5 separate regions of the Homo sapiens genome follow, and regions 2, 3, 4 and 5 are each linked to region 1. The links are contacts of gene promoters, found by promoter capture Hi-C in blood cells and fetal thymus (Javierre and others, 2016). All regions are on one chromosome and are shown on one strand. The core of a region is centred on a gene start or on the middle of the fragment in contact, and the rest is flanking DNA. Distances in the headings are between cores, read along the strand shown. Region 1 holds the start of STX17 (syntaxin 17). Region 2 has its middle 18 kb from the start of CAVIN4. Region 3 has its middle 70 kb from the start of SEC61B. Region 4 has its middle 50 kb from the start of NAMA. Region 5 holds the start of LOC124902232 (a long non-coding RNA gene).

Region 1 (6,284 bases), core at 2,523-5,022:
CCTGATAAAACCATCAGATCTCTTGAGACTTATTTACTACCATGAGAACAGTATGGGGGAAATCGCCCCCATGATTCAAATTATCTCCCATGATTCAAATTATATCCCACCAGGTCCTTCCCACAACATGTAGGAATTATGGAAGTACAATTCAAGATGAGATTTGGGTGGGGACACAGAGCCAAACCATATCAGTGGGAGAAGCTTCCTAGGTGAGATGACTTTTGAGTCCAGCAGAATAAAGAGTAATTTCTTTACTCTGGGGTGGGGGGAAAGAGATGGGGGAAAGCAGGCAAAAAATGGCATTCTAAGAAGAAAGAGTAATAGTTGCAAAATCAATTTGGATTTTTTAAAATGTTTTATTATAGAAATCATAAAGGGGGCCTGGTGTGGTGGCACACACCTGTAATCCTAGCACTTTGGGAGGCTGAGGTAGGAGGATCACTTGAGCTCAGGAATTGGAGACTAGACTGGGCAACACAGGGAGTCCCAATTTCTAGAAAAATAAAATTAGCCCAGCATAGTGGCATACACCTGTGGTTCCAGCTTCTTGGGAAGCTGAGGCAGGAGGAGGTCAAGGCTGCAGTGAACCATGATCACCCCCATTGCACTCTAGTCTGGGTGACAAAGCAAGATTCTATCTCAAAACAAAACACGAAGGAAGGAAGGAAGGGAGGGAAGGAAATAAGAAAGGAAAGGAAAAGGAAGGAAGGAAATAAGAAAGGAAAGGAAAAAAGGGAAGGAAGGAAGGAAATAAGAAAGGAAAGGAAAAGAAAGGGAAGGAAGGGAAGGAAGGAAGGAAAAAAGAAAGAAAAGAAAGAAAAACAAGAAAGAAAGAAAAAGAAAGAGAAAAATCATAATGGGATTTTGATAAATTTTTAAGTTAGTTTGGTGGAAATGGACAACTTTACAATATTGACTGTATTACTTTTCCACATAGTCAAGTCTTTACTTGTATCTTATATGGAAATATGGAAGTCAGGTTAAAGTATAAATACTGTTACGTAAGATTTGAGTCTTACTCCTGTTATGTAGTATATGAGACTTGGACCTTGGTCAAGTTACTCTCTAAGCCTCAATTTCCTAGTTTGTATGAAGGGGGTGATTGTAATACCTACTTCATGGGTTGTCATCAGTATTAAATAACATATTGCATGTAAAGCGCCTAACCAAGTGCTTTACACATCACATGCAATCAAATAAAAAGCTACTTCTTCCCCCCTCCCTTTTTACATGGCTTTATTTAGGTATAATTCACATACAATAAGCACTTATACATAAACATATTTACAGTGTACAATTTGGTAAGTTTTGACATATATATACGTCCATGCAGCTATTACCACAATCAAGATAATGAACATTTCTATCACTCCCAAAGTTTCCTTATGCCCCTTTGTGATCCTTCCTTCCACCCCTATCCCTCATCTAGCTATTATTCTCAATTCTTCAAATAGGTCTTGTAATTCCTTATAAACACAAACTTGATTTTTGTCATTTTTGAATGTAATCTTCCTCCCAGTACATTTCAATTTTTTTTTTTTTTTTTTTTTTTGAGACAGGGTGTCAGTCTTTTCTGCAGGCTGGAGTGCAGGCTGGTGGGATCATAGTTCATTCCAGCCTCAAACTCCTGGGCTCAACTGATCCTCCTGTTTCAGCCTCCTGAGTAGCTGGGATTATAGGTACATGCCACCATACCCAGCTACGTTTTTTTTGTTTTTTTTAGAAATGGGGTCTCACTATTTTGCCCAGGTTGGTCTTGAATTTCTAGCCTCAAGCAATCCTCCCTCATTGGCCTCCCAAAGTGCTGAGATTATAGGCATGAGCCATCACGCCCAGTCTTCTTCTCATTACATTTTAAAATTGATGATTGTTGTTTAGGAGAGGTATTTTATAGCCATCTTATTGAATTAGTTTCAGTTTATTCCATGGATTTTCCAAGAAAGCAATCAATCATAACACCCTAAGAATTTTTTTTAATTTTCTTTCCAACATATACACTTAATGTTTTGTTTGGACTTGCTGGGTTCAGTTAGGACTTCAGGAAAATGTCGGCCAGTAGTAGCAGGCCTGCCCCTAACAACTTGATGACCTAGAGTACACAAAAGAGGTCCACACACCATATGTTTGAATATTTAAAGATTATAAATCAAGCTAACCAACAGTTAGATTAAAAGGTTTTGGTCGGGCATGGTGGCTCACACCTGTAATCCCAGTACTTTGGGAGGCCGAGGCGGGCGGATCACGAGGTCAGGAGATCAAGACCATCCTGGCTAACATGGTGAAACTCTGTCTCTATTAAAAATACAAAAAATTAGCCGGGCATGTTGGCACACGCCTGTAGTCCCAGCTACTCAGGAGGCTGACACAGGATAATCGCTTGAATCTGGGAGGTGGAGGTTGCAGTGAGCTGAGATCATGCCACTGCACTCCAGCCTGGGCGAAAGAGCAAGACTCTGTCTAAAAAAAAAAAAAAAAAAAAAATGTTTATCCTACTACTTTGACACACCTAACTTACAGCAAACATACATATAACAACTTAGAAGTCCAGGTCCAAATTTAGAATCTTTGAGTACCACACCTCCTGATTTTGTACCTGAGGAAGCTTTTTCAGAACTTAACACAAATGATCTTTTATTTCAAAAGATCTTATTTCACTGATCCTTGCATAAAAAACATTTTCTCACAGTATTGCCTAATACTTTAATTTTTCTCCTTAGAATCAAAATTTGATAAATACATTCTGGAGCTCATTGTAAAACAAATATCAGTATACATTATGTCCCCAAAGAAAATCCAAATTGCTTGGTAGATTTGGTGCTTTGTTTTAGAAATTGTCTTTCAAGGCTTTTTAAAGGATCTACAGGCCCCTAATCTTCCCTGTTTACCTCCTACTCTACTGGAAGACCCTAAGAACTCAGTTTCCTTAACTGTGGTTTGAACATCCTGATCACTTCTGAGACAATGCCATTAGTGAATACATTCTAAGCACGTCATCTGAATATTCACAGACATCTTTTTAAAAGGGCTGGATCTGGAAGTTAGGCCATGAAGAGAGGAGGACCTGTGACTTGGACAAGGCTTCAAAGCCGGCCACCTGCTTGTTCATGTGGTTGCAGCTGGTCTAACTGGAATAACTTGGGAAGGAAATTAGGACACCCAGTTGGAGTTCCAGCTCTGCCATAAGCTGGCTGAACTGGAGTGAGTCACTTAAAACTCTTTGTTAAACCCCAGAGTCATAATCTATAAAATCGGGATAAAGACGTTTGCCTTAAGCCCTCCACCAGTTTTTGGAGGAAACCACAATTTGCTGAGCTTTAATTTTTACACCTGTTGCAATTAAGATGGCACTCCTGCCCTGTCCACTTCACAGGGCTTTTGGGGACGGGATGGGGAGGCACCACCTTTCTGAGCTTCAGTTTCAAAACAGAGCTAAGAATACATGCCCAACCCGCAAATAAAATTCTAGGAAGAACAGAGGAAAACGGACAGGAAAACTGCGAAATGCAGTCGGCCATACAAGCATGAATTGTCTTAAACACAACAAGCAGACCTAAAGAGCGTTTGTGCGTCTCTCTCCTCTTGGCTCGAGTCACAACCCCATAACGTAAATCAATATCACTTTTGAAAAAGGCTTTCGCTGTTCTCAGCAGCGTCCGCATTTGTACTCACCTGTGCGCCCCCAGCGCCCGGCCTGGGGGCCCTGCGGGGCGGGGGCGGGGGCGGGGGCGGGGCCCAACCCTGCCCACCCCTCGTGATGCCCCGCCCCGTCGCTCCTGCGCCTGCGCCGTGCCCACCGACCGGCCTCGAGCGCCCCGGCGGGAGGTAAGGGGCTCTCTGGAGGCCGCCTTTGGGGGCGTCGGGCCCTCACAGGCTTGGTGGGCCTGGCGCCCGTGTGGCGCGCGCAAGAGGCGCTGGGCGGCAAGTAGGGCATTGGATCCGAAGTGCGAGCGCCATGGTGGCTCCTCCTGTTTTTCAGAAGTGGCGGAGCCTCGCTTGGTTTCGTTTTTGGAAGCTTTATTGGAAGCTGGTATAGGGAGGCCGCAGACGATGCGAGCAGGACGGCCTCCCGGGGTCGCGGGGTGGAAAAGTTTCCGGCGCGCGTCCTGTCTCTGGCGCGCTGTAGGCCCCGGGTCGCCAGGGTCGCTGGCGTCTGGGTCCCGGGACAGACCCGCGCATCCGTTCGCTGGTGGGGGCGTTTGGTGTGTGTGGCCCAGGTGTGCTGTGGGTGACACTGCGAGGAATGACGCGACGCTCGATGGTAGTGAGGCTCGGAGGACTGGGAGCGAGAGGCCGGAAGCCCCTGCTCGCCAAACCCAGAGGTGGTTGGCAGAAGGTCCCACACCTTGGCTCCCTCCTTTTAGCTAACCGAGGTTCAGAGAGGAGACTTTACTTTGACTTTTCTCTCCAAATTCGGTATCTCTTCCATAAGTCAGAAACATTAAGCGGCGGGCCGGAAGAAATCGGGCGCCACTAGTATCCTGAAAAGTGGGAGCTCTGGGCCGATGGAAGGTGTTCGTCACTTTTGGGGGCTGGGTTTCCTGAGAAATGGGGTCTTTCACTTATTAATAACCTCCTAAGTAACTTACTGGGAAACATGAGTATTATGGTACCCATCTCATATTAGTTGTAAGCACTACATGATAAAGTTTGTAAAGCACCTGGCACAGTCCTGGCACCCCTCTCTCCAAGTATTAATGCAGTGAATACGATGGCAGTTCTTTGACTTCTAAATGTTTTTACCTGTCTTACGTGAAACATCCTCTTATACTAAAAAACTTTTTTATTTTGAAATAATTTTAAAATTACAGAAAAGTTTCAAAAGTAATACAGAGTTCCCTATTGCCTCCATTAATAATTTTTTACATACCATAGCGCAATTATCAAAAGCAAGAAGTTAATATTAGTATAATACTATTAACTGAATTACTAACTTGTGATTTTTTTTCCTGTATTAATGTCCTTTTTCTATTCTAGGATCCACTCTAAGACCCGACATTGCAGTTAGTTGTCTTGGGTCCTTGGTCTCCTCCAGTCTGTGACAGTTCCTCTGTCTTTTCCTGTCTTTACACTGATAGTCTTTTTCTGTCTTTATACTCTTTCTGATCTTTACACTTTTGAAGAATGCTGGTCAGTTATTTTGTAGAGTGCCCCTCAAATGGGGTTTGTCCAGTGTTCTCTCATGATTAGATTAAGGTTATACATTTTTGTTAAGAACACAAAAGTGTGTGTGCCCTTCTCAGTTCATCATATGAGCATAGCTGATATATATGACTTATTGCTCGTGAGGTTAATCTTGATCACTTGGTAGAGAGTGTCTGCTGGGATTCTCCAATGTAAAGGTCTTATTTTTCTCCTTATAATTGACATCTTGGGGGGGAGCTTTTAAACCGTACGCATATCCTGTTTCTCCTCAGACTTTCCCTTGCTAAATTTCACATCCATTGGTGGATCTTGCCTTCAGCAATTATTATGACTATGGTGTTCTAATGATGATTTTCTACTTTCCTCATTTCTTTATTAATTGAAATTATTCTGTAAGGATGAGCTGCCCATTTCCCATTTGTTTATTTGTATTCCGTTATTTATTTGTATCCATGTGGACTTAGATGTTTTTCTATTGGTTGTTATCCTACACTTGTGTTATTTTATGTTTGAAATTGTTCCAGCTTTGATCATTGGGAGTTTTCTTTCAGGTTGCTTTCTGTAGCTTTTCAGCATGCTTCCATCCTTTTTTTTCTTTTTTGGAACTTCCTAATTTTCTGGTACCATAGGATGCCCCAGGCTCATCTTGTGTTTTCTGTGCCTCAGCCCTGATAGTCAGCCACTTCTCCAACGACCCGTAGTTTCTTTTTTTGGAGAATAGTATTTAAACACAAAGATCTGTGCTCTAGGGATGCTCATTGCTACTGGGGTAACATTGCTTCCAGGGCCCCACAGAAGACACCAGTCTATACATATGCATACCCATGCATACACAAAGATCTATGTTTATTTCTGTATTTGTCTATCCATATACTTTTTAAAAACAAAAGTTCATCCCAGTAGCTTTGCTTCTAGTCTAACACCACAGGGTTCATTCTAGTTTTGTCCCTTATTTTTAACTTTTTATCTGACAGTGAGAAATCTGACTCTTGGCATTCTACAAAATATTTTCTTATTTCTTCAGTCCTAGTATACACATAAAGTAATTTCAGGATTTCTGACCTATGTTCCTGTGAGAAACACATTTACTAAATAGAGTACAGTGTAGTTCTTTTTGTCTCTAGGCTTATAGTATTCAG
Region 2 (6,284 bases), core at 2,349-4,848, 690 kb after region 1:
GAGCACCCCAGTCTGAAGAGTTTGGCTCAGTTTGTTACTGTGAATCCATTGAGGTGTTACTCCTGGCTGAAGTTTGCTTAGTATTATAAGGCAGCCAAGGTCTCCTAATAATGTCATGGGCCAATATTCATAACTTACCAGGGTCTAACTAGGCTTTTTATCTGAACAGGCTTTAAATTCTTAACAAACTCTGGTTATGTAAATATGTTGTTTTAGGGTAAAATAAAATCATTGAAATGAGTGTATCACTTTAATTGTATTAGCACCTTTCAAGTGGCCACATTTGTTTGGACAGTTTCCATAAGGAGAAGAAATAAATTAACAGAATTATGCATGGGATGTGTTCCTTTCTAGTTGAAAGCAATAGAGAAGATTTCAGAGGGAAACATTCATATGCTGTCAGCTGCCAAGAAATAGGACTATGTTTTCTTTAACAGGAGAGAAAATATCTCAATAAATCATAAGTTGTAGATTTATTAGGAAAATGCACCAACATATTCTCTGCTTGAAACTCATACATCTTACATAAAAGGAAATCATCAGCATTTCAGACACACCTTTATTGGAGGGTAAAATCACTTAAGATTTGCTAGTTGCCTATTTTTTTTTAAATCATCTTTTCCAGCGATAATCTGCTAAAGCATCCTTCCACCCTCTTTGTTCTCCAGAATGCCAGCCCCTCTCAAGGTAGAGGAGCTGGAGAAGCCTGCACTGGGCCGGGTCCAAGGAAGCCTGTGATTTACTCCTGTGGCTTGATGAGACCAAGTCATGTGCATATGGTGGATTATTTTTCCTGACTTTGTCTCAAAATTTTGTGTAGAAAGGATGACGATTATTAGATTTTTCCAGGGGCTTGAGGTATAGGAATGGGGAAAATGTATATGGAAATCATGAAACTGAATTATGAGTTTTGGCAAAAAAAAAAAAAAATTCTCAACTGTGAATTAAAGGTCAAAGGCAAGGACACTGTAAATTGTGCACGAGGAGGAATCTGGAGAAGGGTAACCTGTGGCCTTTGTTGTCATTGAGGACAAAGCAATATAAAATGCAAAAGAAAATGGGTTTAAATGCAGGAGAAGGGAATCGGGTTAATCACAAAGAAAGGCTTCTACTCCAGAAACATTTCCATCTGGAAGTTCTAAGAATTGAATGAACAATCTTGTATTTGGAGGCAGAGTAGTAAATGAAGTGCCTAGAGAGAAATGCTGCATGCATCGTGTTTCTGTTGTTTCACAGTTTTTCATAGTGGGCAGCCATATTGTTGTATTCACCTCTCTCCCCTTATTTTTATTATTTATTTATTTATTTGTTTATTTTTTATTTTTCTGAGAGTCTCACTCTGTCGCCCAGGCTGGAGTGCAGTGGCGCAATCTTGGCTTACTGCAAGCTCCGCCTCCCGGGGTCATGCCATTCTCCTGCCTCAGCCTCCCGAGTAGCTGGGACTACAGGTGCCCGCCACCATGCCCAGCTAATTTTTTGTATTTTTAGTAGAGACAGGGTTTCACCGTGTTAGCCAGGATGGTCTCGATCTCCTGACCTCGTAATCCGCCCTCCTTGGCCTTCCAAAGTGCTGGGATTACAGGCATGAGCTACCGTGCCCGGCTTTTTTTTTTTTTTTTTTTTTTTTTTTAAGGCGGGGCTTGCTCTGTTGCCCAGGCTGGATTGCAATGGTGCAATCATAGCTCACTATAGCTTCCATCTCCTAAGCTCAAGTGATCCTCCCACCTCAGCCTCCCAAGTAGCTGGGACCGCTGGGACCACAGGCACATGCCCACCATGCCTGGCTATTTTTTTTTTCTTTATTTTTAATAGAGATGAGGTCCACTATGTTGCCCAGGCTGGTCTCACATTCCTGAGCTCAAGCAATCCTCCCTCCTTGGCCTCCCAAAGTGCTGAGATTACAGTCATGAACCACCACACCTGGCCCAAATATCTCTCTCTTTGTAAAGCCTTTTAAAATTGTGTGTGCATTCTCTCTGAGATTCTGTAAGTGCAAAGGACTTACTGTGTTTCTCATTAATAAGATAATAGGTATTTAATAAGTATCTACTGAATGAAAACAAATGAATGCCTCTTTGAACTATGGCCTCTTCTCTGAATATCTTTGAATTAGGATCATTTATTTGATGAGTATTTTTTTGAGCACCTCATGTAAGCCTGGCACTCTTCTGGGAGTAAAGTAGTGAACAGAGCCCTTGCTTTCAGAGATTCCAGAGAAAGACTAGTAACTAGCAAATATAGTTATGTTAGGTGGTGATAAGTGCTGTGAAGAAGAAGTCAGGTAAGGGGGCAGGGCATTATGAGTGGGGGTGGTGCAGGCTGCCACTATTTTAGAAAGGGTGTCTGGGAAGGCCTCTGGTAAGGTGACCAGAATGTTTGAATCTGATAGTCAATCATTCAGGTGTTTCTAGGAAGAGTTTCAGTTGTGTTCAGGAGACAGTGTGGTTGAAATGGGTGAGGTGGGAAATGTGGGAGCAGTGGGGTGTCACAGGCTGTTCTAAGGACTTTGGGTTTTACTCTGAATAAGAAGGGGACCCATGGGAACGTGTTAATAAGAACGACATGATCCAATTTATTGTATTTATACTCATTGAAAAAATCCAGCCATTGTGTTCATACAAAAAGCTAACTACAGTTCCTGCCTTAGTTTACACTGCAAAGGAAATCACCCAAACTCCCAAGAGTTTTCCATTCCATGTCCGCTCCCCAAGCCTCACTGCAGCTCAAGGCTGACATCTAGTGGATATTTTCATAATTGTTTATGCACAGGCAGTTTGGAACCTATCCACTGTTGATTAAGAATAGAGGGGGAGGTTTAACATAGAAAATGACAAACTGGATGATTAGTAGAATACTATAGTGGATTTGCCTCTGTTTTTCTTTGGCTCTTATTCAGGTAAATTTACATTTATCTAGCATATATTAGCATGTATTAATTAGAACTGGGTTCAGCTGCCAGAGATTAGAGCATCAAAATCATGGGTTGGTAAGGAGGAGAAAAAGTATCAGGTGGGATGAGCCAGGAGAAAGTGTCCTGGTTCTAGTGGTGGCCCTCAAAAGGTAGCTGTGGTTTGTTGTATGGTGTTAAGGGTGTGTGTATTCCAAACCTGTGCTTGCATCAGGTTGGCATTGATTTACAAAGGGAGTCTACTGCGAAGGGCATGGTGGAATGAAGTTGAAGGCAGCATGGAGATACTGAAAGTTGTGAAGTTGAGTGTTTCCAAAAGCTTAGGTGGGGTATTTCAATGTACAATCAAGAGCTTTAGCTTTATAACTGGAAAATTGGCTTGTGTCTGCCATTTACTGACTGTGAGAACTTGGGCAAATTATATTATCTGAACCCAGTTTCTAAATAGTACCCACCTAAAGGTGTTATATTAAGCCAGATATTTTATGGAAAGCACTTAGCAAACTTAGCATTTAGTAAGCAGTCAAAAATAGGTGTTATTGTTTAGAGGGACTACAAGTAGCCTCTAGAGATAGAGAAGGAGGCTATTGTAATAGTGGTATCTGCATTGCATTTTTTTTTTTGCCCCTAGCATTTAACATTAACAGAATTTAACTTGAAACCATTTTGTAGATGTATATGATCCATTTTATCGACTTTGATTGTGGGCAGTTGCATATTCTGCTTAACTAAGACATAGCATTTTTACTACACAGAGATCACAATCATCCAGTGGCTTTCATAACTTTTAGGAAAAAAAGGCTCAAATATGAGCTCTGCAAGATCTGGCTCCTGCGTGCCTAACTTCATCCTCATCTCTTATTCTTCCTCCTCAGTTTCTGCATTCCAGAGACTGGCCTCTCAGGTCCTCCAATGCCTTATCCCACCTGTCTTAGGACCTTTGCATAGGCAATTCCATTTGCCTGTCCACACTCTTCCCACTCCCCTCCCAACCAACTAAGAATACACCTAGTTAACTTCTATTCATCTTTCAGATTCCATTGAAAATGATACTTCTTCAGGAAAGCTTTCCCTGCCTCTACGTCACTCCCTGACAGGGAAAGCCTCCCCTGTTACACAATAAGAACACTTATTGTAGTTTAAAAATATATATTTAGGTGGTTATTCACTCAGCTAGATTGTAAACCTCTTGAGCACTGGCACCGTGTCTGCTCAGCCCATTGCTCTGTCCCTGCCATGGTGCCTCAGATAGAGTAGTCTGAAAAGGGAGGGATTTTATTTGAAAGTTAAAATGTAGAAATAGATAAAACACTTGGTGACCGAGTATGAGGGATGTAGTGGGTTCTATGGTGACAATCACATTCCCTCTAAGACTTGGCACTCATCCCTCCAGATGCTGGGAGTTTTGACGGCTGATGGCTCTCGCCCAAGTCTGTCTCCAGGAATTGCCCTCAGCAGAGAAAGCCACCTCACCCAAGGTCATGCCCCCTCCTGAGAGCAGCCCACATTGAGTGACGGGTTGACTGAGGGATATGTGTGTGGCTTCTGGCTTCAGCGTGGAACAGCTCTGAAGGACCTTCCTGGGTCCAGAGCTTGCCATAGCATTGGCTGAGGCCCCGGTTTAAACCTCACTAAGTGTTCAACTCCTTGTCTCTGTCCTTCATCCTTCAGCCCTCACAGGTGCTGTTCATGAGAGCATCACTCAATAAGCCACCTACAATATCTCTGAGTCTGTTTCCTAGGGAAGCCAGCCCACAGCTGGGCATGATGGAGAGGGAGGAGTCTAAGGTGGCTCCTGGATTTCTGGCTTGAGACAGCACATGATGTTATCCAGTGAGAAGAGGGACAAAGAAGAAAGTGTACAGAAGTTGAAGCAGGTTTGCTGGAAAAGATATGTTTTGGGGGTGCTAAGTCTGAGGTGCCTGTGGGATAGCCAGGAGTTTGAAGCTCAGAGGAAAGATCTAGACTAGAGGTACAGATTTGGGAGTCATCAGCAAGGCAAAAACAATGGCATTAAGGAGATCTTCACCCCATAAAAGTGTGGAGTGTGAAAAAAAAACAACTAACCAGGAAGCATGTGTGTGGGAGCCAACAGAAATGGGCAGGGGAAGGAAGACACACTTCTGGCAAATATAGTGATCAGAGAGTTTGGAAAACCGGGAGTGTGAGCATTGTGGATGACAGAGGGATTTGCAGCAGTTTCAGATAGATGTGTCAGGAGCTGCAGAGAGAGCAGCATGGAAAAGTGTTCATTGGGGTGCATGACAAGGTCGCTGAGGACCTTGCTGAGAGCAGTTTGAGTGGAGTGGGTAGAAGCAGCCAGATTCCAGTGAGTTGGGGAGATGGGGTGGGAGGAGAAGAGACAAATGTGATAACCTTTGATAACGCTCATGAGATGGGGACAGGAGAGGTAGGTAGGGACAGAGCACAGAAAACAGGAGGGTATTTGTAAATGATGGGGGAGATGAGCTGAAGGAGAAGGCCCAGCCAAGAAGGGGTAAAGCGAAGGCCGCAGGTGTGGCAACTGGTTAAAATTCTTGAGCAGGTGGAAGAAGACTGAGCAAACAAAATTAATCCTGGAGAGGAAGAACCAAATCTCAGGCGCCAGAAGTGACGGAAGCAGGTAACAACAGCCACAATTTATTATGCTCTTTATTTAAGGCAAGGAACTTTAAGTACTTTAACCCTCACAACAAATCTACTCTCGAATACCACGCACCTGGCCGGAGCTGGTGGGGCTGCGGAGGCCTGGCCTCTCTCCCTGGAGCCCCGCCCAGTCCCCAGGTAGGCGGGGGAGCGTACGCTTCCGGCAGGACAGGGTGGTTCCAGAACCCACCGCTCGCTCTCTTGAAACCGGCTCCGCGGGCAGGAGGAGGGAATTTTGCATTTCCCGCAGTAAGCGCGCCGGGGCCGGGGAGGAGCCACATGAAAAGCGCTAATGGCGTAACGCATGCGCGCCGCGGAGAGCCGGTGCAGAGCCGGCGCAGGCGCCGAGGTCTGCGGGGCGGGTGTTCTCTTCCCGTCTCCGTCAGCATCCAGGTTCAGCGCCCGGCTTGAGTCCGGTTTGTTTTGTAGGAATTCCTGTTAATTCCTGTCGCAGTCTAGCCGTCTACCAATAGGAAATTTGTTAAAATATAGTGATGTACATATGATGGGCTATTTTCGCAGCTCCACTCACGCAAACCAGAAATGTAAATTATTCCCTTGTCTTGGTCTCCTTATAGTTGAAAAATTATTCTCTCCTGGCACTGTTTTATTTATGGCTGGCGACTGAGCTGTTTAAGCTTTGCAGTTTCTGTCTCGTTGGTTGAATTAGACTTACGAACAAATTGTCCATATGATGACAAGAGGGCAATGATGACTGAGTTTTTCCTGG
Region 3 (6,284 bases), core at 1,652-4,151, 610 kb before region 1:
GCCCTGGCCTCTGAACATAACAAGAATGTGGCTGCTGCTGCCTTTCCTTGTTCTGAATCTCTTGCAAAGTGTACTTGTGGCCAAAGCTGACCTGGCACGAACCAGAAAAGGGAATTCTAAGAAACACAACTCCAGCTTCACTAAATTGACACTGTAAAGCCCCCACACGTCGTGAGGCTGCAGTCTCATCATTGACTTTGGACTGAGGGCTACCTGATGGCTTTGTAGTTCACCTGTCTTCTTACTTTGTCCCAGCGCCTGTCCAGGTCAATGGAAGCAGTTTCCCTGTGTGTACCAGGCACTCCCAGCTTGGCCCTCCCAGAACTTCGCCCCACCCCTTCATGGTCTGGATTTCAGAAACCAGATCTAATTCCAGCTGAAAGTCGAGGGAGTTTACGGAAAAATCTATGTGGATGTGGGCATCTTAGAACGAGGCTTTCCTCTTCTGTTCTGGATTCATGGGGAGCTTTAGGAAGGTGAAGCTGTGTGTGAGAAGGCTTCTCAGAGATACCGTGGAGTTCAAGGCTCAGGAATCCATACTTGGGAGCATGAAGTTAATATGGATGCTGCATTCACCTGGTCCAGGAACTCCTGCTTTCCTCTCAGCCCCATCCTGGAGGGGTAGTACTGGACATTCCTGGTGTTTCGGGAGGCCAGGCATTATAGACAGCCTGGTCCAAACCTTTCATTGTTCTTCTAGAGGCATTGAGAATAGCAGCCTCATTAGGAGCAATGGCTGGAAGTAGACTGCCTAGCTTCACATTAGGGCTGACCTCGTATTAGGGCATGTGACCTTGGGCACATTACTTGCCCTCTCTATCCTTGATTTCTTCATATGTAAAATAGGGGAAAACAGTAGTACCTACCTTGGACTGTTATGCCTATTAACTGACAAGTGGGCTAAGTGTCTGGCACCTAATAAATGCTCAATAAAAAGTATTATTATATATAGACCATTTCCCCATAACCAGAGCCCTCTAACTCAAGGAAGCAGGCTATGGGGACTTCCTCCAGTTCTGGGTGGTTCTTCATCACAACTATCCCTCAAACTCATAGCTGGCTGTTGGTCACCTCTTTCCAACATGTACACCATTCTGCCTTGCACTGGAGTTAGCTGCTGGCTTGTCTGTCTTCTCACTAAACTGGCTGTATTAGTCAGGGTTCTCTAGAGGGACAGAACTAATAGGATATATATATAAAATCCTATTAATACTTAAACTCCCATATATATATAAATATATAAATAAATACATATATGAAGGGGAGTTTATTAAGTATTAACTCAAGTGATCACAAGGTCCCAAAACAGGCCGTGTGCAAGTTGAGGAGCAAGGAGACATCCAATCCAAGTCCCAAAACTGTAGAACTTGGAGTCTGATGTTTGAGGGCAGGAAGCATCCAGCACGGGAGAAGATGTAGGCTGGCAGGCTAGGCCAGTCTAGCTTTTTCATGTTTTTCTACCTGCTTTATATTCTAGCTGTGCTGGCAGCTGATTATATGGTGCCCACCCAGATTAACGGTGGGTCTGCCTTTCCCAGCCCACTGACTCAGATGTTAATCTCTTTCGGCAATACCCTTACAGACATACCCAAGATTAATACTTTGCATCCTTCAAGCCAATCAAGTTGACACTCAGTATTAACCATCACACTGGGGTTTCACTTAGCATCACTAGGAGCTGGGTCTACTTCATCCTTTCCCAGCACACAGCCTGGCAGATACTAGGCCTGCAGAAAAGTTTGGGGGGAACCAACATCTTCAATTCCCAGAACGTCTGATTTGCAAAGACTTGGAGGTTGTCTAAACCAATTTCCCACCAATTTTAGGAATTCCTCTTTTAGACCATTTTGCAGATAGTCTTCTAGTCTCTGCTTACATACTTCCCGTTATGGGAGACTTGCTATTACTCAGGGCAGCCCATTCTCTTTTTTTTTAAACCACCCTAATTTTAGAGCTTTCTAATTTTACTCAATAGGATTAATTTTTTCACCATTTGCATCAAGTTTTGGCTGGAGACTGCAAAATCATGCAGTGAGAGAGTTGGTAAATAAGAATTATTCTGGGTTTATGGATGACGTTATGAAATAGTGAAAAAGCTGACAGAGCACACAGTATAACTTTTATAAGCTTTGCTCAACTAGTCAGAAACAGGTCCTCGGAAATGTCTATTCATTTCTGCTTCCAGTGTTTATTGGGAAAATTCTTATATGGTTATTTACAAAGCCAGACAGAAGTTTATAGAGAGTTTGAAGGTAGAAGTTTATAGAAGGCTTGATGTATTTGTCTGCATGCTAATCTCCTAAAAGTCCTCATTCTGGGCCACAGTTTTGGGGAGTGGAGTAGTTGTAGTTCTTAGAGTGCATCTGAAAGTCCCTGGAAGGAAGGGGTTAGGCTTTCCATTTTCTAAGAGACAGTCTTGCTGCCTTCTGGAAGGGATGCTCAGATCTTAGGATAGGTGCCTCCCAATAACCCAGAATGCTATCTGGAGTTTAGCCAGAACATTAGTCCCCTTGGATTAATTTGGAATTCATTCAAATAGTCATTCCCTAATGCCTACTTTATGCAAGAATTTCCCTCAAGGTGCTCGCAACTGATTGGAGGTAAACAAAGACATGATAATGACTCTGGTCCCAGCCAGAAAGTTCTTAGAGCCTCCTTATCCATGCAATCTGTAGTAGAGCGAGGCCTTCCAGGAAACTTCAGAGAACCCCTCCTCTAAACCCTTTTCCAAGAGCAAATAGGTGAGATTTGGGGGAGACTATTGTGTAATAGAAAAAATACCCGAAAGGAGAATCTGGTTCCCTGAGGGGAGAGGTCCACTTGCTGCTACCTCAGTGTTCTTTTGTAAAGTGAAGAATCTCTAACATGCGTACTGGCTCTAACATGCTGAACATTTACAACTAAAAAGCAGTCACAATCCCTGACCCCCAATTGCATAGAGCTTCATGATTTCCATCCTGCTCTCATTTGAATCTAATCCTCATGGTCCCCTGAGAGGCAGATGGGACGAGGACTATGATTTCCATTCTATGGATAAAGAAACTGAGGCTTAGCTCGTGTCCAAGGTCGCGTGGCAGGGGAATGGCTGAGCCTGGAGTTCAGGTCTTTCCCCACCCACTGCGATTGTTGTGGGGCCTTCAGGTTCTGACAATCCATAATTATATAGTCAGCCTTGAAACTGCAAAACATCTAAGGGGGTGGGGGGAAGGTGACTATTAAGATGGTGAACGTAGCTTTTATGTGGAAGATATCTCAATACGAAAGCATTTGTATGGAAGGAAAGGAGGAATGTGGGCTCAGACCATCTCTGGGATAGTGGTCTTTTGTCAGTTTATTAAATTCAGATTTATTGCTGACTTTCTGACCAAAAACATAGCTGTTAGCAGTCTGTAATAAAGCAGAAATATGAATTTTCAGTGAATCTGAGAAAAAAAAATAAAGAGAAGAGACGTTAATGACCTGTCGCTTGGAATAAATCTTAGTGGTCACATAAAGTAGGATGACAGGAATTTATATTGTCCCTCAGCACTTGAATGACTAATGTGGCTAGAGTGGAGAGCCACAGAAATTACTTCTCTTAAAAAGCCAGCACCTGTTTGCAGGCTTTTGGAACTGTTTGATGAAGTCAGGGAAGGTTGCCTTGATGTCCCCCAGTCAGGCTCTTGGTAGACAGCACCAAGCTTGAGACAGAGGTGGTGTTTCAGCCCTGTCCTAAGACCTTTAACTTGGCTGGTCTCAGAGGCTGTCGAGGTTCCTGAGCTGTTCAGGGAGGACCCCCAAGAGGCTAGAGAAGATCTTCTGAGAGACATTGATGAGCAGGGCAGGGGCAGCCAGAAAGGGTCTCAGATGGCCTCAGGGTGGATGTCCATCTGAACAGGTCCCCGATCCCACCACACACTGGGATCCTGGATTCTGTAGTATCAGAATTACTAGGTTAGAGCCAGAACAGCTCCCCAGAGATTTGTTAGTTCGACACCTCCATTTTTTTCAGATGAGAAGACTGAGATTCACAGCACGGAAATAAGTAGCTCAAACATACAGGAGAAGAGAGTGGCAGGTGCAGAAGGAGAGCTCAGACATCTAGACTCCTGGGCATCACACGGCCCCTGTTAGTGTGACAATGGTCCTTCCTTATTCGAGTGTGAGTGAGTACAACCCTGCATCCCATTGATATCCAACAGATATGCCATGTTTAGTGCTGGGAATGTATGATCCCCAACCCAAACAATCCCACTAAGATACTTCCTGTGAAAATCATTATCCATCCTAAAAACCTCTCTCACTGGTATAGCGTGTTACCATCTACACCATGTTTTCACTTATGGGATTCTTGCTAAATGAGTAGATTTTCACTGCTCTTGCCACACACACACACACACACACACACACACACACACACAAATGGGTAACGATGTGAGATGATGGGTATGATAGTTTGCTTCACGTTCTCTTTATGTGATCCTCACAACCATACTGAAAAGGCACACAGAACGTCTACTTTTATTCTTTTTGTACAGATGAAGAAATTGAGGTTCAAGGAGTAAGAATCTCCTGAAGAATCCATATGTCTTTCAGTGAAATTCTGAATGTATTGTAATGAAGTACGGTTGGTGGGTTAAGTTAATGGGTTAGTCAACACCGTTGCTGGGCACCATTAAGAACACAGAAAACCTCCAGCTCTGAACCTGTACCCCCTAGCTCTGACGCTAAGACACTGCTGTCCATTATGGAAAGAAGAGATCATCAAAATGCTCTGACCTCTTCTGGAATTGCCCGGGACCATCTTTCCTCCCAGAGCCCACAGAACCAGTTCCTGGAGGTTTAAGTTAATGAAAGCCAGCTTTTTCTATAAACAGTTCACCTAAAATGTAATCTCTTTTTGAGGGTTTCTAGATCTGATTTGGGTGTCCTATTCTTTTCTGTCATTTAAAAACACACTGTAAGTATTTTAAAACCCATTCATCAAAGGGAAAACTTCTGGCTAAATTTTATGCTTTTATTCATTTATCAAATTTACAGCATTTTATGAAGAGGGATTTCTTATCTATGTAGGTGTCTTTTCTATTAAACGGTACAAAACTACCCTTTCCTCAAAATGATATGTATGTGGCAATAAATAACTGCATTAAAAATGGGAATTCCAGCCAAGTGTTATGCATGGATACACCTGATCCTGTCTTTGTAATTATGGATGATATGTATTGATGCTGGGGATTATTTATCTCATGCTCCATAATTGGCTATTAATTTATGAATATGAGGGCTATATTACAGGTAACCCAGAATGAAATGCTGCAGATTTGATTTATTGTGACCTGATAATGGGTGTTAGGGGTTATCCAAGCGACACACAGAGTACACAGAGGACACTGGAAGAAGCTGGAGTGTCGGAAGGCTTTGAACTTTGACAAATACCAGATATGTGGAAGGGTTTTAGGGGCCTGAGATTTAAGCCCATTTAGAGCTTAAAATACCTTACTAATGATGACTTTAGTAGTCATTTCATTGATTCATTCATTCCCCCATTTATTATTTTTATTTTCTTTTTGAGACAGGGCCTTGCTTTGTCACCAAGGCTGGAGTGCAGGGGCTTAATCACAGCTTACTGCAGCTTTGACCTCCAGGGCTTAAGTGATCCTCCTGCCACAGCCTCCTGAGTAGCTAAGACTACGGGCATGCACCACCACGCCTGGCTAATTTTTGTATTTTTAGTAGAGATGGGTTTCCCCATGTTGCTCAGGCTCATTCCCCCATTTCAAACATATTATGGAGCACCCACTGTGTGCCAGGCTCTGGGCTTGGCTCTGGGACACAAATGGTGAGCATAAACAGATATGTTCCTTGACCTCCTAGAGCCTATTCTCTTGTGAGAACGGCACACCTTAAGATCACCACACATTTGTATCCTTCTCCCTTTTCTTCTTATTTATAGAACACTGATATTGTTTGGGTTGACAAGATGCCCAACTAAAGAACTACATTTCCCAGATTCCCTTGCAGCTGAGGGTAGCCATATGACACGTTCTGGTCAAAGAGATATAACTGGAAACCTGCTGGTTATTTTGGTGACGTTGCTTTCCTGATAGGGTGGCTGCCTCTTCCATCTTGTTGCTTCCTTTTTCCGCCTTTCCTTAGAGAATATGAGTATGCAGCTAGAAGTGAGCGGTTATCTTGCAACTATGAGGTGGCAATCTAGAATTGTTATGTGAGAAAAAATAAGCACCTACAGATGTGGTTAAACACATGGTAACTGCATCTTTTTTACATACGACCAATGCAGTTCC
Region 4 (6,284 bases), core at 2,553-5,052, 580 kb before region 1:
GTAGGACAAATTCTGCTGTCTTGATTTGACCAGCTGGAGCTAAAGGCTGACTAATAGAGAAACTCCTCCCTGGTGCCAATCATCTGGCCCTATCAGACTTTGCTTAGGGCAGTTGAACGGGAGAGATCAAGACATAGCAGAAACTCTGGGAGAGAGGGTGGGGTGGAGGTGGGAGAGAGAGTGAGAGAGAGGAAGAGCTAGGCAAGTATTGGTTCAGAGCTGCTATTGCACCCTTAAATAAGTTTCCCACTACTGAAGGCTTCCTGGATGTGTATCTGTTTCTTGAAATCAATAAAAATAGTGTTTGGCATGTTTCAAGGAAAAATCATGAGATATCACCAAACCTCTGAGTTTGTGTCTGCAGGTTATTTTGATTATTAAGATTTTCATATTGGCTTGATTATTCATGAGCTGGAAACAGTCCTTGTGGTAGCCAAGTGCTGGATACCTTATCTCACACAGCTCCTAATTCAGATAAGTACCCAGGGATTTTTTTTCTCCCAAGTCCTGACCAGACATTATAACACATCACATCACTTTATTGCTCTGAGTTCAGGTCAGGATAAGGATGCTCCTAAATGCCTCGGTGTAAAATTCAGAGAAGATGCCACACAGAGAATAGTATTGCTGTGGACTCTGCCTCAATACCCAACTCTAAATGGCAAAAATGAAAAGATATGGTTAGAATGAATTGCAAGCCTTTGCATTCAAATTTATGGAGTTTTCCCCCCGTAAGAATAGAACTCAATAAAAATTCAAGGCAGGGGAGGGGTCATGAGGACTGCTGGGTTACAACGCAGGCAAACCTCTAAAGAAAGAATATAGTAGACCAGCTAATACATTAATTTGAGAAAGAGAAAAAAGGGTGACAAAATGAAAGAAGACACCTTTGAGTGGTATTATTAGTAATTACCATTATAAAATGGAATAAAATTAAAGCAGACAAGAAAAATAGAGAAAAGACATGGTTCACAAAGCATTTCTCATAAATTCAGAAATAGGGAGATTTTGACACAACCCCTTTTTATAATCATAAGCTTCAAGGAATTATAAAAAGGACATTAGAAACAATAATTGGCAAACTGGAAATCATTACCAGCCAACAGGAAGCAATAGAAAATAGTCTTGCAGATGAGAGGGTAAGGACAAGCAAAGCCAAGAAATTCTATAAGTTGGGCTTTGAAACAAGAGACAGTCTTGAGGACTGGCAGAGGAGAGATGTTCTCCAAGCTATAGGTAAATTTGAAGGAAGCAAAAAGGAAAATAGGAGGAAAAGAGGAAGAAAACAAAGGAAAATTCTTACAATAAGTTTCCTGAATAACTATCACAGAAACAGCCCAGGAGCACCTGCAAAGAGAAACCCAAATAAAGTTGCACCAGGATAATTAGTGGCCAAAAATTCTTGAAGTCCCTGTGTAAATAAAATACCTTAACATATGGAAAAAGAAAAATTCTATCCTGTATGTCTCAATATAATAAAAATAGTACCATATTTAGCGACGGCCACTCTAAGAAAAAAATGCAGTGAATGGTTCCTGAGTTATTCCAAAAATAAGAGCCCAACCCCAGTTTTGGTTTCAAGCCAAAACACACCTTTGCCTGGAAAGGGAAGACAAGACTTTTACACAGCCTCAAGATCCACAAAAATTAATCAGTCTTGGTGCTGCAAGAACACCTTCAGAGGTCAGAAAGTTTTCTTATCCTCTTATCCCAGGTGGGCTTAAGACAAGGGCTGTGTTGTATAAGATGACCAGCCATCCTGGTTTGCCTGGGATTGTGGGTTTCCAGGGATGCAGGACTTTCAGTGCTAAAACTGTGACAGTCCCAAACTGAGATGGTTGGCATCCTAGTGCTAGTTTCCCCTATGTGACAACACAGTCAAGCTAATTGGGCTCAAATGTTAGTAAATATACATGTTTCAAATCCTTGAAATTCTTCAGGTGCTGCATTTTACAATTTATTATTACTTTTCTTTTTTTCTAGGGAAAATGACCCTAAAATGTTCAGCATTTGATCGTTAATTTATCCATTCAATTAAATATGTATTGCAAGCTTTATATGCCCTGGGCTGGGTATGGGGTTGCAATGGCAAGTAAGCGCCTCCCTTAATGGAGCTTAGAGTCTAAGTGGGAGAGGAAGGTATGAAACCAACAGACATATATATGCTTATAATTAGAAATGTGATTGATGGTACAAAGGAAAAGAAGTGATATGATTGAGAAGGGCTTGGGGGATATAGCTTGGACTAGGGGAGGGGAGGTCTGGTCAGAAAAGCCCTTTTAAGGAAATGATATGCAAACTGAGACCTGAAGGATGCAAGGAGAGAGAAGCTAGAGGAAGAGTCAGGCTGCACTGGGGAAATGATGTTGCGGATGGAGGCAGAGGGCAGAGAGGTTCCAGATGAGGAGCAGCATGTGCAAAGTTCCTGAGGCAGGAAGGAGCTTGTTGAGTTGAAGGAGTTGTGAGAAGGCTGATGTCTTATATGAATTACAGGGAAAGAGAATTGCTTTTCAGCTGGAAGAGCTAGGAGGACCAGAAGCAATGGTGGTAAAAATGGTCCAAGCAGAATTGTTGGATGGGAGAGAGTGACAGACACAGGGATACATAGACATATTGAGAGATACACGCAGAGGGAAGAGAAACCAAGAAGGTTAAAGGTTAATGGTGGATGGTGATTCTTTCTGCTTGAACTCTTCTAATAGTAGTAGCCTCTAATATTAGTATAGTGGCCCTGAGGTCTTTCTTGACAAACACATATTTTACAAGGCTTTTGAACACAGATGGAAGCAGAAACTCTGAAACAGCCAAAAATAAGACAACAGCAGAGATTTAGAAGGTCATGCCATAGAGGATACAACCCTACTGAATCTGAGATTTGCTAAAACGAACAGAAAAAAACCACAAAGGCTGTCTTCAGCTAAGTGCCAGAAGGGGTGCTGGCATGTCTCATGTCCAGAAGACCCAGAAATGGCTGAATATTGCTCACCACTCCATCTTAAGAGGTCCCCAAAGAGGTATACCTGAGGGACTATGGCATACCAAAGCAGCATATTCTTGCTGAGCTTGTGCCCAAACTGTAAAGTAAAGCTCTGGTAAACTTGGCTGAGAGTGTGACCGAGGCCCAAAGCTTAAGGGGGGCTTCTCTCAATGGTGAGGGCTAAACTCAAGTCATATGACCAGTCTGCATCAGCCTCAGGAGGTCAGAGGCTGTCTTAGCCTGTTCAGGCTGCTATAACCAAAAACTATAAACTGGGTGGTTTATCAACAATAGAAATTTATATCTCACAGTTCTGGAGGCTAAAAGGCACAAGGTGCCAGTAGATTTCATGTCTAGTGATGACCTGTTTCCTGGTTCATAGATTGTGCCTTCTTACTGTGTCTTTATGTGGTGGAAGGAGTGAGGGTCTTTCCGGGACCTCTTTTATAAGACACCAATCTCATTCATGAGGACCCTACCCCCATGACCTAATCACCTTTCAGAGGCCCCTTCCTAATACCATCGCCTTGGGAGTTAGGATTTCAACACATGAATTCAGATCACAGAAACATTCAGACCATGGCAGAGGCCAAATAACACTCATCAGAAAGAGAGAGTGAACTGCAGGATCATATCTCCTCCCATGAAGAAGACTCTGGTGCTCTCATCACCAAGTTCATGAAAAAGAACAAATAGAGGGGGTGAGCCACACGCCAATAGGCATGATTGTGAATTACTCAGGGCCTTTCCCACAGGTACACATAGCCCAGTCAGGGCCCTGGAATCTGAGCTTGCAGCTCGGAATCCACTTCTCTTGGAGCAAAGCAAGGAGATGGCTGTAGATGGGTGGAGAGTTTGAGTGCACCTGTTCCTTTAGAGGCCTCCATTCCTGTAAACCCAGTGGCCTAACAGCCAAGACTAAGGTTGACTAGGGCATGCGCCACCTTTCTTGGGGAAGGAGATTAGCAGGCTGCATGGGAAATCCTACTGTGATGTCCCCATAGCTGCTGGGATTGGGATAAATGTCAGATGGTCCACAACTCTAGGTAAAAGAGAGACAACAAAACTACTCCTTTCCATTCTGTGTCCAAAGTCTCCTTTGAGAAGGAGATGTCAACTGGAAAGGATCAGGCAAATGTAATTAGAAGGGATTGGAAACCTGAGACCAAGGAAGAGAGGGGAGTGGATTCAAGTCTCCCAGCCTAATTACGTTTCACCTTAGTGTACTAGAAAAGTGCAGGGAGGTGGGCTCAGTGATTCTGAGTCATTGGAGAGTCAAATCTCCCTGAAAAACTACACGCTATAAAAGATCATGTACATTTGAAAAGTGAAAGAACATGAAGTTTTAACAATATAAAAAAGGAAGTAAGAAATTAAAAAATGGAAAGTGATGAAGGGTCAGTTCCAGAAAACTGGGCACTGTAAACTTTCCGTGGGGTAAGCTATCTGGTGCATAAGAACCCTAGGAGGTGAGTCATATTTTCCACACTTTATAATAGAGGAAGCTTAGGTTTATAAAAAAAACTTTATGACAGTTGGTGAGGATCTAGGAATTAAACCCACATATGTTGATGTGGAGACATAGTCAAATACAATTAAAACTCTCTCCGGTGGCTCCAGTATACCATGTCACCTCTCTAAATGACACGCAAGCAATCCTGAAAAACTTCTAGCACCGGTTACCAGGCATGATGATCTATATGAATCCACACTTGTGGTTCCTGGGTTAGCTGGTTCTATTAAGCCTTAGCAAATAAATATTGTTTCTTTTTGTTTTTGTGGACTGGCAGAGAGGAGCTGCCAAATCTCTATATCTTGGCATCAGCAAGTCATCTAGATAATTTTTTGAGAGCTGGATGCTTTTCCTAAAGCACAACTGAATCCATAACCTGTTCATTACTCAGGGTAAACCTGTAGGGAAAATTTTTCTATGACTCCAAACTCCATCTTTGGACCTGTTAATGATTGTAAATAAAGTCTAGGTGAAGAGGTAAAAAGGTGTGTTTTAGAGTTTGAAAGATGAAACAAAAGAAAGAGTCATGGCTAAACCATTGGACAGGGTGGGACAACTGACCTAAACCAAGATGATGGAATTTAGCCAAACTAATAGTCCAATGCTCAGCCATGGGGAGCCTCTCTGTTTACCAAGAAGACCAGGAAGAGGCTTTCTCTACAGAAATACAGGCTCTGGCTAGCAGCAGGCTGCACAGGAGCAAAGGGAAAGTCAACATGTGGATGCAGATGTGGGTGGCCTCTCCCAGGAGACTGAGGCCCCAGGTGAGCAGGGCCACCATTTCCAGATGGTCCTCTGAGAACATCGCTTTTTTATTTGGGGGCGTGTGTGTGGTGCAAGACCAGGGGTTGGGACACATGTTACATCAAGTTCTTGTCCCATTCTCCTTTGCTTCCAGAAGGCAGAATAAGAGCTTCCATCAAAACAATGACAAACAGCAACTCTCTCCATGGTTAACTAAATCTACAGGCACCTACATGCCAAACAGCACAGAGAAGCATTCAAAGCCAAGCCAAGTATGTATGCTAAGAAATTTCGAAATAATTTTAAACTCAAGGAAGTCAATACATTGTGTGGATTTTAAAATATAGCTCAAGTATAACTGGAAACTCTGAATTTTCATTTTAATTCTTGCCATAAGATTCCTACTAGTTTTTTTATATTATTGGCTAGAAAGAAATGTTGGGTTTTATTTTTTTTTATTTTTCTTTTTTCTTTTTTTTTTGGAGACGGGGTCTCACTATGTTGCCTAGGGTGGTCTTGAACTCCTGGGCTCAAGTGATCCTCCTGCCTCAGCCTCCCAAAGTTCTGGGATTACAGGCATGAGCCACCATGCCCAGCAAATGTTGGGTTTTATATGGCAAAACTGAATAAAGAGAAAGTCACAAAAAATGAAGTCAAAAGCAGAGAGGATGGGCTCAGCCTAATTTTCAGTGTTATTGAAAAGCCACCGGGTCACATGAGGCTAATGTGAAATATAGCAGACACAGGCTTCGGAGTTGGAAAGACCTGGGTTTGAATCACACTCTGCCACTTAGTGTCTGGCTTAGTATTGTCATATAGTAAATGGACTAATAATACTTATTTTAGGAAGATTAATTGAGGTGATGTCTGCAGAGCGTTTAGTACAGAGCCAGAACCATAATAAACACTCAAATTTATTATTGTTGCTATTATTGTTGTTATCATCATTATAGTAGAGTGTATAAAATCAAGTTGAAAATCCTCATCATCAACGGATTAAAAAAATCACTTTAATAATAGACCCAGGAGGCAACTAATCCATTAAATTCC
Region 5 (6,284 bases), core at 1,623-4,122, 540 kb before region 1:
ACGCAAGCACGTGGCTCATGGAGAAATGGGTGCTGTTGCCCTGCACCCCCAAAAAGAGATTCTTACTCCCTAGGATCAGAGGCATGGCATGGCTCCAAGCCAGGGTAGCCCCTGTACAGTTTAAAGGTGCCAGGGTTGGAAAGGACCCCTCTTCTGCCCTCACCCCGCCCAGTGCTTGAGCTCCCTTTGACATTCTTTTCAACACGGGCTCAGCTTTCATGCCTCCTTTTCCCTTTACTCCATAATCAGCACCCTAGACTTAGCCACCACTATCTCTCGCCTGCTCTGTCTTGCCACCTTCTTTCTCCGTCTGCTCCTGCTCCCTCTTATCCTCTTATCTGTCTCACCCTGCAGCCGGGAGTCGTTGCTCGCCATAGATGTAGCTTGTGACAAAGTGGCTGGACCCTGCCAGAGAAGGAGCAATGTTATTGGAGAGGGACGGAGCCAGAGCAGCAGGAGAGAGCCGCTGGGCCATGCCGGTGGGAGGAGGAGCCACGGAAAGGACAGTGCCCCGGGAGCCACCAGCAGCAAGGGTAAGATGTTTAATGGAGGGACAGGGCAGGCAGTGCTTGGATGGCACAGGTAGGTCTGGTACCAGGCAGGATTTTATTGTTTGATGAAGATTCATTGCCCTTGATTCTTCTCCTTGGGCTTGTACTTAATGATGGTGAGAGATGAGGAGGATGAAGGGGAGGTGCATACTCTTTTTCCTGAATGACAAAGCTGGGAGCTGGCGATGGCTTTGGGAATATGGGAAGTCAGTTTTCAGAAAGCTATTGGAGTAAAAGATTGTCATGTTATAAACTTCTAAACCACAGATGAACAGGCTTGAACAAACTGTTAGAACACCTAGTGTTGATTATTGAGAGTGTTTCTGCAGTGTGTGACTTGGCATGGTTCATTCGTGCTGTCCCTGAGAACAGTGACATTTCAGATTAGCAGTATTTTGGGGTTCCACTTGAAAAGAGCCCACCCCTCAGCTGACTGGTGCTGTCCTCTGCTGGGTGATTTAATGGTCAGGCATGCTTGGTGGAGAGGAAGCAGCATCACGGCAAGGCACCTGTACCCATCTGCCAGTTTGGATGAAGTGCCAAATCACAGGGTCAGTAATGCTTCTTGGCCAGAAAACATGAGCTGAGCAGCTGTCCCTGCCTGCTATCCATGAGAGGTCCTCTTACCAATTCAGCCTCAGGGAGGGAGAGAGTCCCCTGTAGTCAGACGGGTATGTGAGTGTCACAGCTAGGGGCAGAGGGAGACCAGGGAACCTGCCCTTAGCCACTCACACAGATATGAATCCAGGAAGCTGAAAGGGAGCTCTTTCAGGCCAGGATGGAGGATACTCCCAGCATCCCCTATGGTCAGATGCATGGGTCCTTGGAGCACTCAGGGACCAGCCTAGGAGAAGAGATGGGAGCTGAACGTGTTATAGTTAAATAATTCCTAGATTGCAGAACATCTCCCAGCTTCATTTTTCTGTTTTGTAAAATGAATATAAATGAGATGAAGGATGCAAAATGCCCATAAACTGAATGGCATTATTTGAGTCTAAGTCATTATTTGCCCTGAAATTTTTGCATTTAACATTTTTGTCAACAATTTGGAGGCAGATACTGGATGCAGGCTTATCAAACATGTACAGAAAATAAAGCTGGGAGGGCTAGCTGAAACACAGCTATAGAGGACTCCAGATTGCAGAATCTGAAAGCTCAACTCTCCCCTGGCTTCCTTCCCCTGGATGCCTTCTCTGTGTGACCCTCAGAAAGCACAGTGCCCCTAACAGAACTCCATTTTTTCGTGGTGTGGCTGCTGCTTCTCTGTAGTGGGCAGAGAGGCCAGGGATACTCCTAAACACCCTACCATGCTCAGGGTTTCTCTGTCTCAGCAGTATTGACGTTGTGGACCAGATCATGGTGTTGTGGGAGCTGTCCACACGGTAGTATGGTAGGATGTTTAGCAGCATTCCTGGCCTCTGCGCTATAGATGTTAGTAGCACTGCTGCTCCTCTCTTTGTGACAAACAAGTGTCCCTGGGGTACAAAACTGTCCCTGGTTAAAACCTCTGCTCTAGATTCATCCTTTGCACTTCCCTGCCTGCATGGTAGCTCCTCTGGTCACGTCAAAGTTCTCATAGTTCCTTAAATAAACAAAACTTTTCCACATCTTTCCCAGAACTTTGCATGCACAGATCCCTTCCCACTCCTGCCTTTGCCACTTCATAAAATCCTGTGTATCCTTGAAAACTCATCCGAAGCATCCCTTCCTTGCAGACGCCACCCCAGATGCTCCCGGACAGCTAGTGCACTCACAGCAAAGTTCTCCTGGAGCCCTGAGTGCATGGATTTAATTTTTCTTTTTGCTTGTGATGGTCTCTCCCACTGGACTATAAGCTTCTTGAGGGTAAGTCCTGGATCTTTCTCACCTTTGCTCCCCAGTGCCTGGGAAGTATGGCCTAGCACAGAGTGGGTGCTTAGTGAATCCACCTTGAGTAACATTGTTTAATGGATCACTACTGGCTGGTCACGGGACATACAATGCTGTAGGCAAAAAGCATATTTTCTGGATCTTAATCATGTAAAGGGTCCAGTACTCCACCCTCAGGTATCAGAGCACCTCATCTCTTTTGCAGAGAAAAAAATAACTTATTTTAATCTCCAGGATGCTAGAGAGGTTTAGAGAAGTTTCCTCCTGCGAAAACCTTTTTCAGGCTCTGCCTTTGAGAAAACACTGAAAGGATAGCAGCAGGTAGCACTTTCTCTTCAAAAGATGCCTGAGGATGGGCACCAATCCCAGCCAACCTTTCTGCCTGTGTTGGGAGCAAGGGGCTCCACCTAGTCTTTCTTGAATACAAATGTGATCCGTCGGGTCCAACAGCAAAGCCCCGCCCTCCACTGCCAGGACTCTGGGCTGCGGGACTTTCTCCAGCTCTCCCCTCTGCATTGTCAAAACGGGAACAGACTGAGCAGAAGGAACGCGTTTGTGCTGAGACCAGAGCCAGGGCAGTACGCAGCAGATCCAGACAATCTGCTCTGCTCCTCCCAAGGAGAGAGGAAAGGCTTTTATTTCTTGCTGACAAGCAAGTCTGCAATGGGAAAATCTCTGGGGGACCAAAGCTAAGCCAAGTGAGAGATGCACGCCCCACACTGGTGTGCCTCACCTGCCTTTATACAGCCAGGCTTCAGTGTGTGTGTGTGTGTGTGTGTGTGTGTGTGTGTTAGGGGTGGTGGTGGTGATGTGCATGCATTAAAAGAAAACTCATGAACTGTCAGACACAAAATATCAAGTGCCCCCACTGCTTGGACACCTTCAGTGACAGGGACTTCTCACCATCTTAACAACTGTTAGACAGCTCTGTCTAGTAGAAAGCTTTTGGTCACTCTGGTGGTTTACCCTTTGGTCCTAAGTCCAATTCTTTGTTCTGTTTAGAATTGGTGCAATCCTTTTTCCCCAGGAAGGATTGTCAGAGGCAACCACTTTACCAGCCAAATCCCTTCTTCTGGCTAGAGACCCAGTTCTTTCAACTCTTTTCCATGTGACACAGTTTTGAGTCTTCTCCCTTCCTGATCACCCTTTTCTCATCAGTGCAATAGGTAATACAATACTTTTGTTTTTTCTGCAGTTCTCAGAGAGTAAGTTATTTGGGGTGGACATGTTTTCCACACAGCTGAAGAGCAACAGAATTTTAAAAAAAAGCACAATGGAAAAATTGTCAGCATGCAGGATACAAGTCCCTTTTAGACTGTGTACATCCCTGCCAGTTCTCTCTCTGACGTTTCTCACTATCTCTGACTTCATCTCTCACTACTTCCTCCCATGTATCTTCTTGCACCTCTTTGTACAACACCTTCCAACAAGATTGGACTCTTGTGCTATTCCTGAAAACACTAGGACCAATGAGAGGAAGCCAGAAGAAGTCACCTGATACCTGGATGCCTGGCACCTGGATACGAGAAGCACCTTCTAATGGCCAAAGAGTTCACCGCTGGGAAGGGTGACACCAGCTGGGGGTGAGCTCTCCACTGTGAAGGTGTGTGGATGGAGGCTTCTGGTAGGGAAGTTCTTGACAGGCCTGGACTTAACAAATCTGCTAGGTACTTGCCGTCTCTTTCAGCCCTGTGATTTTGTGATTGTGGGCAAAGATTCCGTAAGGGCGTGTGTGTGTGTGTGTGTGTGTGTGTGTGTGTGTGTGTGTGTAATGAGGACTCTGGGGTATCCTTTTGACAGCTGTGGGAGGGGGAGCAGAAAGCCATTTCCTTCAGCCGGGCTGCCGTAGGGCTGGCAACTGAGCATGCCTGACTCAGTCCGTGGCTGAGCTGAGCTGCTCAAGAAGAGGGGAGGCACAGTGTGGTGACAGACAGGAAGAAAGAGGGCCTGGTGCAGTCTCCCATGCTGGGGAACTTGCGGGTCAGGAGGATTTTGAGGGCCCATAGGTAAGTGTCTATCCCCGCCCCCCAACTCAGGGGCACAAGCCAGGTCTCTAATTGGTCTGAGTGTGTGGACAGTTCTGAAAAGTGTAGGGCTGGAGCCTGTGACATTATTCTGGAACAATTTGCCAGATTTCTGGACACGAGAGTGGCCACTGGTCTTATCATAAATGTGGGATGTCAGCATTTTCTAAGACTCCTGGAGTCTCAGGTCTGGGAGGACTTCTCCATGTTTCTTGTTCAGCCCCTCAGAAGCTGGCACACCATCACAAGCTATCATCCAGCCTTTTCTGGAACATCTCAGCATTTGATTAAAAGAAGTAACGGATGGAAATTATCTCCCACTGGCAGGTAGATAAACAAATTCCTTCCCTTTTCTTTCCTGTGAGTGACAGAAAGCTCACTGCCTTCTGAGGCAACTCATTCCATCTTTGGATGGCTTTGAGCTGAAGTCTGTTTAGTTGAGTGCACTGCAGGACATATTCTTATCACTCTCATGTTATCTGGGGAATCAGATGTTCTTATTACTATTGCTTATAAGAAATACTACTACTTACAGCCACTGTTAGGTGAGCTCTACCTTGTGCCAGGTACCAGGTTAAGTACTTAACTAAACATGAATGTCAGGTCTATGGAAACTTCAAATCCCACTGGGCCATAGCTGGATGGTCCCCAGAAGTCAATCTAGTTCTCATGTTCCTGGTTAAATCAAAGCTCAGACCCTAAGCCACGAACCTAGATCTGTCATGGATCAATGAAAATAGAGTTTTCCTAAAGGGGGCTGTGGCCACATGGATTTCTGGATACCCCCATTTTCCTGTGGTTTCTGGGAAGCCAGTTCTTCACAAATGTGAAGTTAGTGGCTAGCCCCCTGGGTCACCCAGAGAGCTTACCTAGAATGGCCCCATCCTAGGGCCCCCATCCAAGAGACAAGGTCAAAACTTGAAGTCCAAATGCTGCAGGGGCCAGGAGGGGGTAGATAAGCAAAGCTAAAGCCTTGCTTTTGTGTCTCTCCTGAATTCCCTGGGAGGCACCTATGAAGCAGGAGTCTAAGAGGCAGGAAATATGGTTCTGTATTGAGGCTCTGCCACTTTCTGTGCAGCCAGGTAAGCTATTGCATCTCTCTTGCCTCAGTTTCCTCATCTAAAAATGGATCTAAGAATTGTAGCCACCACTCAGGGCTGTTGTGAGGACGTGGGGGACTCAGCTGGTGACAATTGGTGTCATGATTTCCTTCACTCTAGCCAAGGTGGACCAGGCGAAGTCTGAACAAAAAGAGTTTCTGCAAGGTTCAGGGGAAATGAAAGGACTTCTCTGGCCACCTTAGACAGCAGAGAGGGACAAATGACAGTCTTAGATCAGATTCCCTAGAAGCAGAGCCTGAGGCAAGGATTTAGGTACACGTGATTTACTGGGGGAGTGTTCTTCAGGAAAAACCTGCAAGGGAGAGAGGAAAGGAAGCAGGATAGGAGCAGGGAGAGAGACAAACACAGGCGTGGTCAAGGGCCAGGCTACCAGATAAAATACAGGATGCCCAGGTCAATTTGCATTTCAGATGAACAATGAGTAATTTCTTACTATAAGTATGTTGCAAGTCTTGCATGAGGCCTACTTATACTCAAAACGTATCCTTAGTTTATTTGAAATGCAAATACAGCCGGGTATCTTGTATTTTTATTTGCTAAATCTGGTAACCCAGTCTAAGCTAGTCAATCAGCCCCATTTGCCCAAAACTGATGGGATACGGGAATTTCAGTGTAAAACTGAAATTCAGGCTGGTCATCATAAACTGTGATCTCAGGGAAAGCCAGCCTTGGCCTGATCCTTGGAGAGGGGGTAGAAGTGGACTGACTCTCTGGAGCCT

The links. Contacts are between HindIII fragments. The CHiCAGO score rates a contact against its expected background, and 5 or more counts as called.
Region 2: a fragment that was not itself captured here is called in contact with the fragment with the promoter of STX17 in region 1 in 1 of 17 cell types (fetal thymus); the score reaches 13.0 in fetal thymus.
Region 3: a fragment that was not itself captured here is called in contact with the fragment with the promoter of STX17 in region 1 in 4 of 17 cell types (M0 macrophages, M1 macrophages, M2 macrophages and 1 more); the score reaches 14.5 in M0 macrophages.
Region 4: a contact is called between a fragment that was not itself captured here and the fragment with the promoter of STX17 in region 1, in 1 of 17 cell types (M1 macrophages). The highest score is 6.1, in M1 macrophages.
Region 5: a fragment that was not itself captured here is called in contact with the fragment with the promoter of STX17 in region 1 in 1 of 17 cell types (M0 macrophages); the score reaches 5.9 in M0 macrophages.

Annotation. Positions count from the first base shown.
Region 1 is chr9:99,902,882-99,909,165 of GRCh38, forward strand. It overlaps STX17 (syntaxin 17), which reads left to right and starts at 3,773. Exons shown (of 8, transcript NM_017919.3): 1 at 3,773-3,825. STX17-DT (STX17 divergent transcript) reads right to left here and starts at 3,720. Exons shown (of 3, transcript NR_038853.1): 1 at 3,673-3,720. RefSeq lists a silencer at 3,512-3,911 and an enhancer at 4,072-4,311. The HindIII fragment of the contact is 1,410 bases long and covers 2,604-4,013 here.
Region 2 is chr9:100,593,061-100,599,344 of GRCh38, forward strand. No RefSeq gene overlaps it. Among named protein-coding and RNA genes, the nearest start is that of CAVIN4, 18 kb to the left of the region's middle. RefSeq lists an enhancer at 5,687-5,981. The HindIII fragment of the contact is 747 bases long and covers 3,226-3,972 here.
Region 3 is chr9:99,289,026-99,295,309 of GRCh38, forward strand. No RefSeq gene overlaps it. Among named protein-coding and RNA genes, the nearest start is that of SEC61B, 70 kb to the left of the region's middle. The HindIII fragment of the contact is 1,553 bases long and covers 2,126-3,678 here.
Region 4 is chr9:99,322,402-99,328,685 of GRCh38, forward strand. No RefSeq gene overlaps it. Among named protein-coding and RNA genes, the nearest start is that of NAMA, 50 kb to the right of the region's middle. The HindIII fragment of the contact is 1,355 bases long and covers 3,126-4,480 here.
Region 5 is chr9:99,359,105-99,365,388 of GRCh38, forward strand. The region is part of intron 5 of NAMA (non-protein coding RNA, associated with MAP kinase pathway and growth arrest); the gene reads right to left. It overlaps LOC124902232 (a long non-coding RNA gene), which reads left to right and starts at 228. Exons shown (of 3, transcript XR_007061692.1): 1 at 228-533; 2 at 2,267-2,396. The HindIII fragment of the contact is 976 bases long and covers 2,385-3,360 here.